Linked DNA regions of Homo sapiens: region 1 is linked to region 2. The links are contacts of gene promoters, found by promoter capture Hi-C in human tissues and cell types (Jung and others, 2019). All regions are on one chromosome and are shown on one strand. The core of a region is centred on a gene start or on the middle of the fragment in contact, and the rest is flanking DNA. Distances in the headings are between cores, read along the strand shown. Region 1 overlaps GLB1 (galactosidase beta 1). Region 2 holds the start of CCR4 (C-C motif chemokine receptor 4).

The links. Contacts are between HindIII fragments. The study calls those that stand out against the background at their distance.
Region 1: a contact is called between a fragment that was not itself captured here and the fragment with the promoter of CCR4 in region 2, in 1 of the 25 tissues and cell types used here (adrenal gland).

The regions. Positions count from the first base shown.
Region 1 is chr3:33,085,131-33,087,830 of GRCh38, reverse strand. The region is part of intron 1 of GLB1 (galactosidase beta 1); the gene reads left to right. Among named protein-coding and RNA genes, the nearest start is that of GLB1, 11 kb to the left of the region's middle. The HindIII fragment of the contact is 5,700 bases long and covers 1-2,700 here.
Region 2 is chr3:32,950,218-32,952,917 of GRCh38, reverse strand. It overlaps CCR4 (C-C motif chemokine receptor 4), which reads right to left and starts at 1,274. Exons shown (of 2, transcript NM_005508.5): 1 at 1,228-1,274. The HindIII fragment of the contact is 21,428 bases long and covers 1-2,700 here.

The DNA.
Region 1 (2,700 bases), core at 52-2,551, 130 kb before region 2:
GAATATTATTGTTCTGTAGTTTTCTTGTAGTGTATTTGTCTGGCTTTGGTATTAGGATAATATTGGTCTCATAGAATAAATTTAGAAATGTTCCTCCTCTTCAACTTTTGTAATAGTTTCAGGAGGATTGGTATTAATTCTTCTTTAAATGTTTGGTAGAATTCTCCAGTGAAGCCATCTGGTTCTAGGTTTTTCTTTGAGTGTGTGTGTGTGTGTGTGTGTGTGTGTGTGTGTGTGTGTGTGTGTGTGTGCGCGCATGCTGAGACATGGTCTTGCTCTGTCGCCGGGGCTGGAGTGCAGAGGCATGATCTTGGGTCACTGCAACCTCCACCTCCCAGGTTCAAGCGATTCTCCTTCCTCAGCCTCCCAAGTAGCCAGGACCACAGGCACGCGCCACCACACCCGGCTAATTTTTGTATTTTTAGTAGAGACGGGGTTTCACCATGTTGGCCAGGCTGGTCTCAAACTCTTGACCTCAAGTGATCTGGCCGCTTCCCCCTCCCAAAGTGCTGGGATTACAGGCGGGAGCCACCGTACCCGGCCTCTTTGAGGTTTTTGATGACTGATTCAATCTTTTTAATAGCTATTGGTCTGTATAGATTTTCTGTTTCTTCATGATTCGGTCTTGGTGGGCTGGGTGTGTCTAGAAATTTATCCATATCTTCTAGGTTATCCAATTTGTTGGCATACAGTTGTTCATGCTATTCTCTTACAATTCTTTATTTCTGTGTCATCAGTTATAATGTCCCCTCTTCATTTCTGATTTATTTATATCTTCTTTTTTTTAAATCTAGTTAAGTTTCTCAATTTTGTTGATTTTTTTTTCAAAAACCAACTGTTTTTTTTTCCTACTATCTTTCTATTCTCTTTTGTTTATTTCTACTCTAATATTTTATTTCCTTTTGCTAGCTTTGGGTTTATTTTTTTCTTCTTATGGAATTGTCTTTTTATAGTTATTTTGTTTGAAACAGGATCTAAAAATAGGTCTATATTTTGCCTGTGGTGTATTTCTTCAGTCTCCTTAAGTCTATAACATCCCCTTTTCCTTATTTTTTATCATTTATTTGTTCAAGTTATCTGGGTCATATGTCTTAAAATTTTATACATTTTAGATTTTGGTGTCATTTAACATGTTCATATTTTCTGTGAGCTCATAGAGCTAAAGCTCTCTAAAGGTTAGAGCTAGAGGCTGGTTGGATTCAGGTTCAACTTTTTCGCTTTTTGGGTAGGAAGAATTCATTGCTTCACTGATATTAAGATTGACCTGTTGGTCCAGGTGTTGTCAGCTTGATCCCTCCACTAGAAAATTCCGCATTATCTTTCCATTTAATGTTTCAGCAGTCATTGGTGATTGTTGCCTAATGTCATTATTTCACTAAAGATTGCAGAATAGTGATTTGTAAAATTCTACCCTTTTTTTCCTGCATTTACTGGCTATGGATCCTTTACAAAGAACTCTCCTCATTAATTATGTGGTTACTCTGAAAAAGCCTATAACAAAGGCAAGACAGATACCAGATTCTTTCACTTGATTCCTTAGTTTATAGCATAATGATCTGATACCACAGCAACCTCCAAGAATGACCAATAAGCTTTTCTTCTGGGTGGGTGAAATATTGTTAGGAATTTAGATATTTAGATATTTTATATATCTGATGTTTTTTAGTTCATCAAAGTGTTACATCTTTTAATACTCAAAATAGCCCATCTTTGGCCAGTTGGGACCTTTTCATTTTTCATTTTTTACTTTTTAGAGTCTTAGTCTTGCTCTGTTGTTCAGGCTGGAGTGCAGTGGTGTGACTGTAACTCACTGCACTCTCAATTTCCTGGGCTTAAGCGATACACTCACTTTGGCCTCCAGATAGCTAGGACTACAGGCATGCACCACCACCACCACTCCTGGCTCTTTTTTTTTTTTTTTGGTAGAGACAGAGTCTCTCTTTGTTGCCCAGGCTGGTCTCAAACTCCTGGCCTCAAGCAGTCCTCAGCCTCCCAAAATGCTGGGATTACAGGTGTGAACCTGTAATCAGCCTCCCAAAATGCTGGCATTACAGGTGTGAACCACTGCACTTGAGCTGGTTGGAGCCCTGTCATCTTGTCATTTTGATGAGACCCTAATAGTTTTGTTTTTTTTTTTAATCTAGCCCTGTTTTGTACATCTTATGCCACAGACTTGGATTAACTAATTTCTTGAAGAAGCAGCTTTGGTTACTTTTAGTGGGAAATGTTTGCAGATCACAATTTAGGCGCTATATGGGTTAGATTGCTACCCGCTGATATCATTTCCAAACTGTGTCTTTGGGTATTGCTAGGAAATGCAATACTTTTTTAGAGAGAAAAAAAATCATAAGTGTATACTAGTATTTACAATTCAAATAAGAGATTATGGATTTTATTGTTTTTTAATGGACTATATTTTTTAGAATAGTTGTAGCCTTATAGCAAAATTGAGTGGAAAGTACAGAGATTTTCCTGTATCTCCTGATTATGGGGTTCTTAATTTTGTTTGATTTTATGTTTGTTTCTCTCTCTCTCGCTTTTTTTTTTTTTTTTTTTGAAACAGACTCTTGCTCTGTCACTCTGATTGGACTGCAGTGGCACCATCACTACTCACTGCAGCCTGAACCATTCTGGGCTCAAGCAATCCTCCCACCTCAGCCTCCCAAGTAGTTGGGACCACAGGCATGTGCCACCATACCC
Region 2 (2,700 bases), core at 25-2,524:
GAATCCTATTAGAGTGGGAATTCACCTGATGGATCTAGAAAACACACATCACAGCCAGAAATAAAACCTCTACCTCCCCAACCACCTTCACTTCCTATCTAAATTGGCAGATAAAGAGGTTGAAATCTTCTTAAAATTAATCACATGCTGACATGTGTATCAGAGCAATTCAGGGCTGAAGGGCTTTCCGACTCAAGGCCACTCCCTTGCTTCCTTCTTGAGGCTTTTGTGGGACCCTCACATTCCTTGTTAAAATCCTTTTCACATTCGTCAGTAAATTCACATTCGATCTCTCCCCACACCCCCACCACCACACACCCAATGCCCAAACTGTGTTTCTCAAGAAAGGGCTTTTGAAGCCAGGTGTGCAGTGGCCCACGCCTATAATCCCAGCACGTCGGGAGGCCGAGGAGGGAGGATCACTTGAGCCAAGGAGCTCCATGCCAGCGTGAGCAACATAAGGAGACCCTGTCTCTACAAAAAATTGTTTTAAAAGTTAGCTGGGTGTGGTGGTACGTGCTGATAGTACCAGCTACTCAGGAGGCTGAGGCAGGAGGATCCCTTGAGCCCAGGAGTTCAAGGCGCAGTGAGCTATGATGGCACCATTGCACTTCAACCTGGGCAGCAGAGTGAAATCCTGTCTCAAAAAAAATAAAAAATAAAAAGGAAAGAAAAGAAAAAGAAAAAAAGAAAGAAAAAAGATTTTGGTTTACTCATGCAAATAGATACTGAACACCTGTTACATCACAGAGTCTCCAAAAAAGTTTGTTGAATGACTAACAATTCTAGTCTTTCTCCACCATTTTACCAGTGAAAATGAAAGGCATAAACAAGGCTGAGGAGTTAGGAAATTATCAGGAGAACAAAAAGCCAGGAGACACAGCTGGTAAGTGTCTGGAATTATTCTGTAGGCCTTGCGTGTGTGGTATTTCTTGCCTGGGAGTCTTGCTAGAAGCAAGAAGCAGACAAGTGTATATTTTTTATGAAAATGATCTATTTATTTGGGGCATGTGGACTCAGGCCAGATGTGTGCAGGAAGAGAGTCCTGCATAAATTAGTGCCCATCAGATGAGGGCTCAGAGGGTGTGGGGACAGGTAGAAGGTGTGTGGGCTGCAAGGTAGGTGCCAAGTGTAAGCCCTAGACTCGTGAGGGGCCTGAGCATCTCAGCCAGGTCCAGAAAGCAGTGTGCGACCCAAGACCCTGGGAATGTCCCCGTCCCTGCTTACCTTGCTTTTCTGAAAGCGGCTCTGAGGAAGGTCTGTGAGGCAATGCCAGGCTTGCTCAGGAAGCACGATGCTAAGAAGGACCCGGTGCCTTTCAAGGGTGCGTGGCTTCCTGTGAGCACGAGTTATCTCCCTCACCCAACTGTACTAAGTTCAAGTGGGGTTTTTTGATAGAAGTAGGAAGCAGAAAATGATTCTTAGTCATTTCCCAAGACCGAAGGCCAAGAAGATGTGCCAAAAAAAGATTAAGAAAAAAAATGAAGTCATTTTCTTTTTAAAAAAGATTTTTAGTTTTTTTAAAAATACAAAAATGTATTTGTTGGTTTTTAAAAAAGAGATTTTTTTAAAGAAACAGGGTCTCACTCTGTCACCCAGACTGGTGTTCAGTGGTGCAATCATAGCTCACCGTAACCTTGAACTCCTGGGCTCAAGTGATCCTCCTGCCTTAGTCTCCCAAGTAGCTGAGACTAGAGGTGCAAGCCACCATGACTGACTAATTTTAATTTTTGGGGAGATAGGGGTCTTGCTATATTGCCCAGGCTCATCTTGAACTACTGGCCTCAAGCAATCCTCCCACCTCAGCTTCCTAAAGCACTGGGATTACAGGAATCAGCCACTCCTTTTTCGCTTTTTAGTTTAAAAAAAAAAATTCCATTTAACTGGCCATATGCGGTAGCAATGATCTCTACATTTTGGATCAGCAACCTGTTTGCTAGTTTCTCATCATGGATATGCAGGGGCCAGCAATCAAGATGTGCAATGTTCTCCTGACAACTGGGATCTGAGAGGCCAGGGTGAGAAGGAAGGCCAGAGATAGTCAAGAAAAAGGATATTCAAGAAGAGAGAAGAGAAAAATTTGTCCAAATGTATGTGTCTGTGAGTGACTTGGAAGGCATCAGCCAACCACATTCTTTGATTCAATAGTTGACATGGCCTCAAACCAGTGTGAAGTGGCCTGGCAACATAGCTTCAAGTCCTTTTGAGTCAGGAAGACCCCTCACCCAAGCGCCTTCTGCTTGGGGATTGCGGAGCTTCATTGGCAGTGGTCTTGGCTGAGGTCTTGATCTTCACTTTGGATGTGGGTAGCAGTCATAAGCGAGGGGCTGACATGAGCCCTAAGTCTCTCATAGCCTCAGCTTTTTGGCAACTTCCAGATGCTTTCCCTGTGTTTCAACTGTTGCTTAGCTCTTTGATTCAGCTTAAAAGAGCCATAAAGATCATTCTTTCTAAGGAATTGGCATAAATAGAAATTAAAACACTGAGCTAGAATGGTGTTAGGGAACCCCTTCTTTTTTTTCATTATCACTTGCCCCAAGGAGTCTTTTGAGACTTTTTTTCCTAACACTCCCTCATAAAATTTTAATGCTACAAACATACCATATATCTATTTATACAGTGTATGTATATCTGTGCTTTATACATAAAATGAGTATGAAATTTTTCTCCCTCCAAGAGCCAAGTTTTATCTTGGGGGCA